5 separate regions of the Homo sapiens genome follow, and all the other regions are linked to region 3. Evidence: promoter capture Hi-C in 16 types of primary human blood cells and fetal thymus (Javierre and others, 2016). All regions are on one chromosome and are shown on one strand. Each heading gives the region's core, a stretch centred on a gene start or on the middle of the fragment in contact. The rest is flanking DNA. Distances are from core to core; before and after follow the strand shown. Region 1 overlaps KLF12 (KLF transcription factor 12). Region 2 overlaps KLF12 (KLF transcription factor 12). Region 3 holds the start of DIS3 (DIS3 exosome endoribonuclease and 3''-5'' exoribonuclease). Region 4 has its middle 21 kb from the start of LINC00393. Region 5 overlaps KLF12 (KLF transcription factor 12).

Region 1 (2,700 bases), core at 47-2,546, 960 kb before region 3:
ACAGCGTTTTGCCCGATGCAGATGGTGTGTACTACGTATTTTGCAGGACATTACGATCCTTGAAATGTAAAAATGATACGTCATTTAACTTTTTCCACAGTTACTGATTCAGTTATTTAGTGGTATACCCTTGACTTGCATGCTTTCAAACTGGTGGGTATCTTGAAAATATCATTAAGTGAAATTAGAATCTTGGTGCTATTTTTGCTTGGTGTTATCTGAAATAATGCATAGCTTTTGCAAATTTGTGATTATTAATAGATTTGGAGGCCTCTGATTCTAGAAATTACATACGTGCAGAACAATGACAAGTGTTAACAAAGGAGCATTTTCTTTTTCTTTTTACACTTAGTATTTTGACCTGGTGTGTGAAAAACAGTAATTATCACATGTGATACTTTTACAAAATATAAATTCAGTCCTTGTCACAATCTGGGTTGACATTTGTTAGATATATTTTAAGGATAATAATTACCTTTAATATTTATAAATATGTATGGTTACAATTGTACTGGTTAGAGCATGCCCTTCAGTCCTCATCCTAGGTGACCTAAATGTCAAATGATTTAATACACTGGAGGAGGAAAACCAGAGCCTACTTCTGAGCTACTGACACAACTCCATTCATAGTGAGCTCTTTCACAACGTCATGATTTTAGTTGCAATTGGATAAGAGTAGCGTCCCCTCTTTCCTACCTAAAACATATGCTTTAAATGTATGTGCATTTGTAATATGTGTTCTCTTATGTCCCCAGGTGGTCAAAGAGCACATGTGCAAAACAGAACCCCATCCTGCAGTTATGTGTGGTAATGAACCACGGCTTAAACAATGAATACGGATGCATTAACCACAAATTCTTATAAACAATAAATGAATAAATAAGTTATTTTAATGGGTACCTAGCAGCTATAATTTTAGGTACTCATAAAAGTGACTGATTACATTAGCAGGCCTTGGTCTAAAGAGTGCAGCTGGCTAACACTAGAAGGCTCTGTAGAACTAGAAAGTGCAACCATGGCCTCAGAATTTAACACCAGGATGCATGAATGTTGAGTTCTTTTCTGACACACTAGCCTTCATCAAAGGTAAACTCAACTAGCCACCATCAGAAATTAATGAACCCTAATAATGTAGAGACATGCGTATGCTCACCTATGCGTAGACATGCATACGTCACCTTGCAGTTTTATTTTTTCATGTCCTGATGCAGGTTTGGCAAGTGCTGAGCATCGTTTTGTCATGCTCATCCTAGGCAGCAGGCTTTCCTTCCCTGCGTTGCTCCTCAGTGTCTACCTACCTGCTCCTGAAGCCCTGGGGCTCTATAGCAGTTCCTCCTGTGTTGCTTTTTCTGGCTTCATTTGCTGTTGCTGCCACCCCCCACAACCCCCCATTACTAGACCACCCCCTGGGTAGCTGACCCAGGCTCCAGGATGTCCATCACACAGGCCCCAGTCACCTGCTTTTTGCTCCTACCACCAGCGTGCCTAAAGGGTTTATAAAGGCCTATCTTGAAAAGACCCCTCCTGCAGGAGACCTACACTCACCCTTTCAAAACGCCCTTTCATCCATGCCCTCATGAGAAATTCACAACCAACCCTTGCGACATTCACAATAGGTAGTATTGACCCCATTTTGTCAGTGATGAAATTGAAGTTCCAAAATAGAAATTCAGTTATTTGTCCTATGGAACAAAGCCACTTTGCAACAGCCCTGGCACATCTAGATCTTCACATTCCAAATTTAGCAGTGAATCTCCTAATCCAATCCATGCTACCCAAAGTCAGACTTGAATTCTTATTTGTAGATGGAGAATTTGAAAGCAGACTTAACAGCGGTATTTAACTTTAGTTCAAAGATGCCATAGGTCTTGGCATTTGGGTCTGTTTGAGGTATGGAAAAATATTTGTAGATGTAGAACTTTTCTTACATAAGAAGAGTTTCCAAATAAATAGGAGAGGTCACTAAAGTTCTTGCAAGTACTTCTCAAAACTTTTTTAAAGGTATACATTAGTTTCTTCTACCTGGACTGCTTGAAATAGAATCCTGCCTCAAGGAATTAGTAAATGATAAGAGCCCTCCATGTACTTCTTAGTCATTTTATTTTTCTCTCTTTCCTGGAAGCGTAACTTTCTTAGAAACCACAACTTTGGTTCTTCTCACTGATGAGCAGAACTTTTAAAAATAAGGTGATTATTCTGAAATAGTTCTGAAGCATGCTGATACCAAAGCGGAGTTAAAATCTACTTCTTGGATCAGCTTTTTCCAACTCTACATAAATACACATAAACCCACACATATAATGTAATATGCATGCTATATCTTTTCAGAGGTTTTCTAGGAGCCATTTTGAAAGAAGTTTCCTTGTAACTTTAATGAATGGGAGAACGTTTTTTTCTAGTACTCCCCCAACCCTGCCTTAATTTCTAGTACATTCAACTTGTTATGTAATTGTATAGTAAGTCTTAAGGCAAAGCCATATTCTACGGTGCTTTCAGGATCTCAGATCAATAGTTATTTTATATAAGATAGCACTGATCAGACAGCAGAATTTTAGACTCTCTATACAAGAAGAGTTGATCCTGAGAGAAGTAATGTTAAACCCCTCTGTCAATATTCTGTAAAAGTGAGTAATAACACCACCACCTAGCACATGTAATGATTATGTTATTCATAGATGAATATGCCTAACTCCTCACTCC
Region 2 (2,700 bases), core at 70-2,569, 980 kb before region 3:
CCCGGAAGCTTTAAGCTGTTTCCAGTGGATAAGTCCAATCCTGGAAGCTTGGAAAGCAATATATTCTTCACTTCTCCTTTATCTGGCTAAAATTTTGAATTGACTTTACTTTCTTCAAAGTCCAGTGTAGCACATCACTTCCAGAATGTACTCCTCCTAGGAGTACCTGTTCACCCTTCCTTCCTTCCCTGTGCCTGCAGATTCTGTCACAGCACATTTGAATAACGTTGTTTGCTTCCTAGAGTTTTAAATGTGGTAGAGTGAAGGAGAGGGCACTTAGACACCTCTTTGTGCCCACCCTCATGGGAACAGGTACAAAGAGGGCTCACTGAACTCAGGCACCATACCTTAGATAACTTTTACCCACCCTTGTACCTGGCAAGGGTTAGGTATTCAGTCACTTTTGTTGGACTGAATGAATGCATCAGTCCTGCCTCTGGGAGTCTTCAGAGTGAACATTATGACAGACCTGTTGTCTTGAGAGTGGTTAAGAAGGAAAAAAGGACCACAGATTTGCAGGCGTAGGAATTTAATTGCATCATTTACTAAGAGGGGTTCAAGTTCTGGGGATTTTGTATTAAGCAATTCTAAAAGAAATTATTTATAAAACATGCCATTTTTTTAAATTTGCAATTGGGAATATGCTTTTTCAATGACTGGATTATTCTTCTCTGTCTACAGGGTACATCCGTCCCCAGTATCAAGGGTCCGGGGCAATCGAATGAATAATCAAAAGTTTCCTTGGTGAGTATACAGTCTAATATGAGTATTTGTAGGTCTTACGGGAAACTTTAATAGGGCTTATGTTAAAATTAAGAGAATTAGTCCTACTTCTCTATACAGAGTACATACCTGCTAACTGGACTATGCGGTCTTCCTTTCCTCTGGACAGTTCGAAATAAATATTGATAGAGTTCCTTTCCAGCCCAAACTCTTCATTCACCAAAAACCCTGAGTGTAACTTTTTTTTTTGACAGATATGATCTAAGTTCCCAAGATTATAAACTCTTACCTATTTTAAAGAATGTTTTCCTTTTTTTCGAAGGTACATAGACCCAGATATTTCTCAGATACCAACTTCAACTCCTCATGAAGATTTCCACAGTTAATGAATCTGTTACATTAGTTTTGGGGATTACAACGAACTCAGTGATTTTTTTTTTCCTTGCCATAGCCTTAAATATCCAGGATTTTTTTTTTTTTTAATTTGGGGAGTACTAAGATCTTCTTTAACTGATGAGTTCTTGAACAAAAATATAGATGGAATTTTGCAGAAACAACCTGAAAAGTTATTTCAACCAGAAAACATAGCTTATCGATTCTTTAGAGAAGCGATTTAAAGTGTTTCACAAATATTTCATGCGAAACAACAAAAAAAGTGGGCTCAATATCTGTATTTGTTTATATTACTCCATTCCACAAAGTTAACCTTTTAACACATAATGTGTTATTAAGGAAAAAAAAGAAAAACTAAAAAGAAAAAAATGAACTGTGGCTGTATTACTTCAAAGATGAATGGAAATTCCATTTTTACTTCATTGAATTATAGTTAGAATGAGATTTTGATTAAAACTATGCCTTTTTTTAAGTATGGGAAGATGATCACCAAAGATTGAGCTTCCAAATTAATTTTATTCCTAAATCAAGATTATTTTTAGACACAAAATAATGACACTTTGAATTTGAATCATGCCTAATCATCTCACCTCCCTTCCCCCACGAAATCTAATTAATTCTCACAATAGCTTGGCGATGTTGTTAAATATTGTGCTTTTCTTTTTCACAGAGGGGGAAATGGGGCACAGAGGCGTTTGCTTACACCTTGCCTCAGAGCCGGGGCATCCTTCCTCGTCTCTTACCATTGCTAAAGCATGTTATCCCCTGTCCGGCCTGAAAAGCTAAGGGAGTAATAATATGATGATCATTATGTGAAAGGAAAGGGACAAATCAGGTCTGTTCTTGACTTATCACACGCCACAAGCTAATGGGTAGAGTACAGAGTTGTCAGGTATGAGATCCAGTTTCCATAACTTGGTTCTCAATGGCTAAATGTAAAACATGGAGTAAATAACAGAGTTTCTTTTCTTGACTTTTCCTCTCTGAAGTATTGAAGTAATGATGTTCCTGCATAATTCATAGCATGTTATTTGTTTAGTAAGTGTAAACCTCTTGTATCTCCAGAGAAGTAATCCATGGAAAACAAAAGTGATGTTTACTACTGGCCTTGAGAAAATTCAACTTTTATTTATTCAGCAACATTTATTTACAGTCCCAGGCACTGTAAGAAGCACTAGATTAGAAAGATAAATAAAACATGGTTTCTATCCTCAAGGGCCTACCTGTCTTGCAGGGCAGATGTGTATGTGTATGTGTGTGTGATGTCACATACACAGGCACATATACGATATCACACAAGCACATAATATACAATGTGGGTAAAGCTCTAAGGAGATATATTTATAATATAATGTTTAGAAGGAGAAGTTAGCAGCTTTATTTAAGACTAATTTGAGAGTTCATACTTGGGAGGGGGTGGAATATAAAGGAAGGAACAAGGCTGTCAGAAAATCCATCCCAAAGAAGAAAGCTTTTGAGCAAAGACCTAGAATTAGTAAGAAAAGCAGAGTTGAGCTAGTGTTTCCTTTATAGATTGATGCACGCATAGAAAGACCTGGAGATATTTCCAAATTGACTCTAGTA
Region 3 (2,700 bases), core at 100-2,599:
CTAATATGAAGTCAGCCTTCGAGAAACTTAAAAAAACAGTTCCTGCGGGGAGGAATCTTACTTGGAGGAAACAAAGAAATGTACAAGATGAAGAAAAAAGCCCATTATAATCAAGAATGGCACCACTAAAACCAACACATGCTCAAAGATAACAGAAATCACGTCTGAGTTGGTCAGGGAAACGTTACACAGAGGTAGCACTTAGAATCTTTAAAGATTTGGACAGGCATGGTAAAAAGGAGAAATCATGCAGTTATTAATGATACGTAAGTGGAAGTAAAAAAACAAAGCCAAGTCTTGGAATAGTTACTCCTTTCACCGCCCCCCCAACACAAACACAAACACACACACACACACACACACACACACACACGCCCTTAACGATCAAGACTGGAAGGCCTTAAATGTCAAAATAGGGTTGGATTTTATTCTACAGGCAATGAGGCATCATTGAAGATGTTTTAAATAGGGAAAACGGGGACAAAAACATTTTTTATAGATAGCAGAATGAAAACAACAGGATATAAGAAAAATTCAAGAAATTCTAAATAGAACTTACTTCTAACTCTCTCATAAGAATGTTAGCAACTACCTTGTTTTAATACCTCATGATATAACAAATTATGCTATTAAATATTTCAGTTTTTCTAAACTGAATGATAAGGAAAGGTGTGTGGAGGGGAAACAGCGAGAACTATACTAAGATCGGCCTCCCTCCTTCTTTTTGAAGGGAAATAGGTAAGAAAAAGTGAATTCAAAGACAAATTCTCTCCTCGATTACAAAGGGCCCGAGACGGGGACTGCCTATACACTCGGCGTGAAAATTAAGCCCCAAACTTGGCAGCTCGGGGGATTCCTTGCCCCACGCGGGAAAGAAAGCGATGATAGTCGCAAGTTACCTCGAAAGTGTCAATTACTCCACACTGAAGCCTTGACCAGCAGCCAGTGCAGACACCGAGGGACCAAAGGCGTCTCCGGTCGGAAGCACAAGGTTGCAGGCCCTCAACAAGGGATTTCAAGGCAGGGGACCGTTAGGACCCGTAACCAAGACAACCATCTCCGCACCCGCAAGGAGGACAGAACCAGCACTCCCACAAGCCGCCGGAAGTCAACTCTCCCGGATGTTCCGAGGAGCGGAAAGCAACACACGTTGTGAGGTGGCGTCCAGAAGGAAGCCCCGCCTAGGCCACGGGCGGAAATGGCTCCTCGCCTTGCTTTGCCGCCCCTCCCCACTCTCGCCCAATCCCCGCGGCCGTCAGAGAGCCAACCAATGTTTATCTCGGCATTTTCCCGCGAGAAGTGTTACTAATATCCGGGAATGGAAAGGGAAGAACCTCCGGGGTTAGGCGTATTCTAGATTGACGCCTTTTGCTGGAAGAGCGCTGCTGGGGTTAGGATTCTGCGCGGCGAGGCAAGATGCTCAAGTCCAAGACGTTCTTAAAAAAGACCCGGGCGGGCGGCGTGATGAAGATCGTGCGCGAGCACTACCTGCGAGACGACATCGGCTGCGGTGCGCCCGGGTGCGCAGCGTGTGGAGGGGCGCACGAGGGGCCGGCCCTGGAGCCGCAGCCCCAGGACCCGGCGAGCAGCGTCTGCCCGCAACCGCACTACTTGCTGCCCGACACTAATGTGTTACTGCACCAGGTGCGTGGGCGGGCGAACCGCGGACAGCGCGGCCCCACGGGGACAAGGGGGTATGACAGGGAAACTGAGGCCCAGGGAGGCGGGTCTTTGGCAGTGTCACATACCTAGCGAAAGGGAAACCCCCTCGGGACCGAAGCTTCCTGTTCCCCAGGCCGAGGTTCTTTTCCTTGTGCTTTAAAAAATTTAGTTCTTGGAGTCGTAGTTCAGACACGTTATTTTTCTAACTCCTGGTGTCTCTTCTGCCTTAGATTGTAAGTGCCTGGAGGCCGGGGACCTGGGCTTCTGTGGCCTCCAGCCTGCGACTCCCAGGCAGCTTGTAAGTGCCTAGGAACAAAAAACTATGTGGGCCAACGTATTCCTTTATTAATACCCTTAATTCTACGAAGTCTTGTGATTGGTCTGTTTAAGTGTGCTTTTTTTAATAGATCTGAAGGGTTTAGTGACTATTGTCTCGTTTTCTATAGCCAAATAGCTTCTTGGCTTAACTTATTCAGTGTTTTTAAAACATAAAGTATTTATGCCCAACATAAAACAGGATTTTATGTTTGACAGAGCTATTTACAAATGAATATAGGAAAAATTAACTTTATCTTTCTTTAAGATTGATGTTCTTGAGGACCCTGCCATCAGGAATGTAATTGTGCTACAAACAGTTCTTCAAGAAGTGAGAAATCGCAGTGCCCCCGTATATAAACGCATCCGAGATGTGACTAATAACCAAGAGAAGCATTTCTATACTTTCACTAATGAGCACCATAGGTAGGAGGAATATTACGTTAAATATCAGAAAACCACAGGATTAGCAAAATTCGGGAGAGGGTTCCTGTGAGTAATTTATGACATTGTCAGAAGATAAGTGATAGATTTCATACCTTATTTAATTCTTACATGGCTGTGCAGAAGATAATGCTAAGTGGATCTCTCTAAGGTCACACAGGCATTGATGGGCTCAAGCCTAAAACCAAGGTCTGCTGACTCCTAGACTACAATAGGTACTTTAATTTCCAAAATGTTTTCATTTTGAATTGGTTTTAGCATGAGTTGGACCATAGAATC
Region 4 (2,700 bases), core at 173-2,672, 900 kb before region 3:
GCCTGATTTTCTGACTGTTCTTTGTAGGCCATACAAGCAGCCAAACCAGCTCTCCAGCTTTGTTTTTTATTTATTTTTCAGCTCACCCCGGGAGGCTTTGTCGTACAAATAGACCAATGAGGCAGATTTCATGGACTAGATCACATGATGTTATTTTTCCCTCAGGGTAATTTATTCGTTGATATTTCCTCTACCAGGGTGATTCTTGGATACTTCAATGATAGCTGGAATTACACAGGTGATAGATAATTCATTATCTCATGTTTTACCTTTACTCTAGCCGTTTTGCCATAGCCATGATTTCTAACCTAATGGTTTCATTGTTTCTTATTCTCCCCAATTTGAAGTCTACAAAAAAACCACACGAAATAGTTAAAAGTACAGGAGCAGCAATGTACTTCAGCTTAGAATGCCTTGGGGCTTTATCAGAAAAGAAAAAAATATTTCAGTGCTAGAACAAAATCATGCTCCCTAAAAAATTATTTTAGTCCCAATGGCCATGGAGGGTTTTCATACTATATAGTGCATTGTCTTCCCACCAAAGTGCGTGGTTTCCTTCAACACAATGAGCTCCTTGTGCTTTGTTCGTGTGCTGTCTGGATTTAATATATTTCTCTCCCAGCAGTGTAATAACTATAATTTACATCACTTCCTGTTTAGTCTAAATTCACCAATGAACGCCTACACAGCTCATACACTTGAGTGATTGTCTATTTCTGAAATAAATTACATTTTCCTTGTACAGGAACAACTTTTACATGATCTTTTTTCTTTTATAGTTTCACCATGTTAAGAGTGTGCTTGTGTGTGTGTATGTGTATGAGAGAGAAACCCAGTTTTATGAGGCCATGATGACATCAGCAATATGTGCTAAAAAACATTTACTCAGGAGAGCCCCAGAATTGTTTAAATAGGCATATAGTCATCAGAATAGCCCCCTTTTCTCTTATTGTAGCTGCAGTAAGTATTGTATTGCACAGATTGTAATCCATTATCTTGAAGAGGATTGCAAAGCACAGAAGGTCTGTGTCATGAGCTACTGTTATACCCTGGTCCCTCAGAGCTTTCAGTCTATACCAAAGACCCAAGTTGGTTCCAACATCTCAAGGGTGGCCTTGCCGCTGCCTCTGGCTGCTATGCCCTCTTAAACTTGGCCATGGCCAGGTCATGAGGTAGACGTGGCCCTGGAGGGTTAAACGTTATTGATCATCCCCAGGGTCCTGAAAGCTTATGTCAGTGTGGCCAATGCATTCTGTTGCTGAATTAGGGCCTGTGTACACTACTTCACCTTTCCTGGCTGATTTGGAGCCATTTCTTTGTAATTTGTTCAGCATAAATGAATACAGTCATTTGAGCACTGATATTGACCCTTTTGTATTATATGTATCAATATTATGCATTATCCAAGTGAGCATTCAAATTATATTTGATATATCTAAAACATGGAGGAAATGGTTAAGAAATTACATAAAGTCTATATTCTATTCAACCACTCGTAAATCTATGTTCTTATGGTTACTGATAGCAATTTTTATGTGCATAAAATAAGGAAAAGCACATGTTTGACTTATTACTCTGTAAAAAGATTATGCTAATTGATGTGTGGCATAAAGCTTTGTACTTAAGACATAGTCCCTCACCTAAAGTAAGTTATTGTATCCGATTAGCGTAGATAGATACATACACAATTTCTCTAGTATGAACTGTAAATGGATAAGCACCACCAGAACTGGCTAAAACGTGATGGAATTTTAAGGGTAGAGAGAATAGCTCAGTAACACAGGTAATCAGTCAGCCCCTGTGTCCCCTGAAATACACATTGTATGTAGATATTCAGATCCCTAATAACATGCCCTCTGGAAGATTTCTGTGAATTTTGAGTGTGTGTGCAACACTGGAGAAAGAGAGGCAGAGGTGTCTGCCTGATCACAATCACCTCATTCTCTTGGTTTATGGATCATTTCAAGTTGTGACGTGTGCTATCTCTGTTGTCCATCCTGTCAGCCTCTTCTTTGATTTGCACATGTGCCAACACACATGTAAGTTGTATATTCAGTTTGCAAACTGCAGTTTTGTGACCCATTCATGGCAATGAAATCCATGTAGTGGATGAAAGTGAGCATTTTCAAAAATTAAAGAAAGGAATGAGATGGTATAAGATGGGATGAAATAGAATGGAATGAAGCAGGAAGGAAGCGAAGATGAAGAAGAGCTTTTGTTTCAGTTCATTGTCCGTTAGCATGCATGTGACAGGGCGCAATGTAAAAAATAAACTTTGAAAGCCTCCGGTGGGGTGGTCTCTCTCCTCTCCTCCTGCCCACCTGCTCCCAAGGCAAGTCCAGGTGTGCTCCATCTCACATTGAGCAGAACCTCTATTGAAATGGTTAATTGTATGTGTCATATTGACTGGGCCACAGTGCCAAGATATTTGGTTGGACATTATTCTGGATGTTTCTGTAAAGGTGTTTTTTGAATGAGATTAACATTTAAATAGGTGAACTTTGAATAAAGCAGATGACCCCCCATAATGTGGGTGGGCCTCATCCAATCAGGTGAAGGCCTTATCAGAACAAAGACTGACCTCCCTTGGGCAACAAGGAATTCTGTCAGCAGACTGCCCTTGGACTTGAACTTGCAACTCTTCCCTGAGTCTCCAGCCTGTCAGCCTACCCCATCCGATTTTGGACTTGACAAGCTTCC
Region 5 (2,700 bases), core at 201-2,700, 940 kb before region 3:
TTTTTTTTTTAAGGTTTATGTAATCCACCAAGCTATCACTTCTGGCATAAAACATAATTTAAACCCCGGTATTTTCTGAAGAAATTCTGTGGGAAAATCCCTCTAAATATTTAAGTATGTTATGTGTCTTCCATTCAGTGGGTATGTCTAGTATAATCCAGAAATCCATACCTGTTTCAGAACCCTCGTTTCATCCTACATTATTAATTGATCTCATGGGATAAAGTCTTCGCAATGCATAGGACATTCCCCACAGAGTAGCTATTTTGAATAGATACTCTATATCTGAAATAGGCATTTTTTTGTTAGCCAACAATCCTCTTTCAACTTGTAGTCTAATTTCATCATAAAAGTTTGATAATATAGCCAACCAGAACAGACTGTTAATGATTCGTTTTTTTCTATTTTGATTCTCTTTAAACATTTTGCCTAATACAGCTTATGATCTTGCTTGCTGAAATATGTTGAAACAAAAAGAACAGAAAGCTTGTCATACTTTTAAGTTTTTTAACGGTCTAGAAAGTGATGTGGAAAAATACTTAGTGGCTGCTGTTATATTTAAGTAAAATCATGAAATACTGTGAATCCATCCCCAGGGCACCCCTTGGGCGCCCAAAAGGCTCATTTGTAAACCATTATCTTTTAATTAGTTTAGTAGGAAACTTTGTTTATTAAAGTAAAACAATAATTAAATATGCATTTTAGACGCATTCTGTTCATATGGAAAACTTGCCAAACGCTAGTTTGAATAGATGTTAAGATTGAGCTTTTTGACGCATTTTAGCAAACGTATTTCTCTTGATTTATACATTTTGTGAAAACGTTTTTATTGAATCCAAATTAGAACATGATATAATGTCTCAGTCACAGCTTCTGAAAAGGGTGGCAACTACTAATCTTACAATTTCAATCTGTTCAAAAGTAGTTTTCTGTGAAATGCTACAGACAGGAGTGAGAGAGGAACTTGATGCCTGTGAATCTGCTCCACCTCCGAATGTAGCTGCTGGGGATTTGGTAGTAAATGTATCTAAACACTGCTTTTTCCCTAATTAATATCATAGGAGAGACATTGACATGGTTTGACAGGCACTAGAGTCTGTTGTAGTATGGAAGATAAATATGAAGATTCCTGCCTCTGAGAGCCATCTGCTGGTTAAGGGAAAGCCTACAAAGAAATGCAGATATCTGGCTTGTTCATGTGAATAGAATCTGTCTTACTGAGATTTATGTAAATCCTGATTAACTGAAAGTCTCATCCACTCTTGCTCTGCTTGTGGTCTTGATGATTCATTCCCAGGGTGGTGTTTGATTCACTAACAAAGAAGTCATTCTACCTACAGGTATTCTGTGGCAGAAGTTAATTCAGAATTCTGTAGGTGATGTTCAATGTCTTATTTTAAATAATATGAAACCTTAGAAACAGTACAAAATATACTTTGTAAACTGAATGCTCCCACTTCCCTTAAGGTAATTCTATCGTGCAACCAACTCAATTCTTTTTGGTACAATTGTAAATAAAGTGGAATGTCAGGGAAGGGACTAATTTTGTGGCATTAATGGTCAAGGAAGACATTAGCATATACCACTGCCAAACTCAGCCTTTAAAAAACATTTCCCTTGGAAATACATAGTTTATAACAACTTTAAGAAAATATGTACTGGGTAGGCATAGTGTCTCATACCTATAATCCCAACACTGGGACGCCGAAGTGGGAGGATCACTTGAGGCCAGGAGTTCAAGACAGGCTAGGACAACACAGCAAGACCCTTTCTCTACCAAAAAAAAAAAAAATTAACTAGGCATGGTGGCATGCACCTGTAGTCCTAGTTCCCAGGAGGCTGAGGCGGAAGGATTGTTTGAGTCCAGGAGTTTGAGGCTCCGGTGAGCTATGATTCTACCACTGCACTGCAGCTTGGGCAACAGAATGAGTTCTTGTCTCTTTTTAAAAACAAGATGAAAGGAGAGAAAAGAAAATACTTTCTTTGGTAGATTAATAGTAAGTGTACTGAATGCCCATCTGACAGTACTTACAGAACGGTTTACCTTTTTAAAATTCTCCAGAGAAAAGTATATGTCTTATCGTTGCAGGCTATATTCAATAACACTTATGTGTGCTGTTGTTTTATATAATTGGGTTAAAGGGGAAATTTAAATGCTATAGATATTTTGTTGCTTTTTCCCCTTCTATCATATGTTGGTTTGTAATACCTGTATCTTCATCTGAATAAGCATAACATTGTAATTAAAATTGAGTTCTGGAATCAACCACTCAGGTCTGAGTTTTAGTGTAGCCGCAGACTTTGTCTTGGCCTTGGCCTTAACCTCTCTGTGCCTCAGTTTCCTCATCTGTAAAAGAGGGATACAGTGTACAGGGATAGTAGTGTCAATCTCAGAGGGTTGCTCTGAAGCTTAAGGCATTTAGGTCGGTGCCTGACACCCACTAAGCATTCTGTAAATATCATTGTTATCCTCAGCTGTGGCCCTTGGAATTCTGTTGTGATTGCGTGTGTGAATTTACTAAAGCTCCTTCAATTCCAGTGTTTTCTGCTCTGGTTTTTAAATCTGGGATGTGTATGTCTTCTTTCCAGGCTTGAAAGATTGTCCTGGCCTTTTTAATTTTTTTTTAACTCCTGTAAAAACTCCAGTTTCAGTGAAGGACATCTCATCATGCTAAGGTCACACATGACGAGTGGTCTTTT

What was found. Contacts are between HindIII fragments. The CHiCAGO score rates a contact against its expected background, and 5 or more counts as called.
Region 1: a contact is called between a fragment that was not itself captured here and the fragment with the promoter of DIS3 in region 3, in 1 of 17 cell types (total CD4 T cells). The highest score is 5.4, in total CD4 T cells.
Region 2: a fragment that was not itself captured here is called in contact with the fragment with the promoter of DIS3 in region 3 in 3 of 17 cell types (total CD8 T cells, total B cells and activated CD4 T cells); the score reaches 6.3 in total CD8 T cells.
Region 4: a fragment that was not itself captured here is called in contact with the fragment with the promoter of DIS3 in region 3 in 1 of 17 cell types (endothelial precursors); the score reaches 5.4 in endothelial precursors.
Region 5: a contact is called between a fragment that was not itself captured here and the fragment with the promoter of DIS3 in region 3, in 4 of 17 cell types (fetal thymus, naive CD4 T cells, total CD8 T cells and 1 more). The highest score is 9.3, in fetal thymus.

The regions. Positions count from the first base shown.
Region 1 is chr13:73,743,262-73,745,961 of GRCh38, reverse strand. All of the region lies in intron 6 of KLF12 (KLF transcription factor 12), which reads left to right. Among named protein-coding and RNA genes, the nearest start is that of LINC00393, 83 kb to the right of the region's middle. The HindIII fragment of the contact is 6,584 bases long and covers 1-2,700 here.
Region 2 is chr13:73,762,982-73,765,681 of GRCh38, reverse strand. It overlaps KLF12 (KLF transcription factor 12), which reads left to right. Exons shown (of 8, transcript NM_001400136.1): 6 at 682-744. Among named protein-coding and RNA genes, the nearest start is that of LINC00393, 100 kb to the right of the region's middle. The HindIII fragment of the contact is 2,540 bases long and covers 50-2,589 here.
Region 3 is chr13:72,780,549-72,783,248 of GRCh38, reverse strand. It overlaps DIS3 (DIS3 exosome endoribonuclease and 3''-5'' exoribonuclease), which reads left to right and starts at 1,349. Exons shown (of 21, transcript NM_014953.5): 1 at 1,349-1,644; 2 at 2,246-2,403. The coding sequence starts at 1,417. PIBF1 (progesterone immunomodulatory binding factor 1) reads right to left here and starts at 1,116. Exons shown (of 18, transcript NM_006346.4): 1 at 900-1,116. RefSeq lists enhancers at 1,216-1,325, 1,243-2,157 and a silencer at 1,606-1,655. The HindIII fragment of the contact is 4,441 bases long and covers 1-1,782 here.
Region 4 is chr13:73,681,839-73,684,538 of GRCh38, reverse strand. No RefSeq gene overlaps it. Among named protein-coding and RNA genes, the nearest start is that of LINC00393, 21 kb to the right of the region's middle. The HindIII fragment of the contact is 386 bases long and covers 1,230-1,615 here.
Region 5 is chr13:73,720,811-73,723,510 of GRCh38, reverse strand. The region is part of intron 6 of KLF12 (KLF transcription factor 12); the gene reads left to right. Among named protein-coding and RNA genes, the nearest start is that of LINC00393, 60 kb to the right of the region's middle. The HindIII fragment of the contact is 1,923 bases long and covers 489-2,411 here.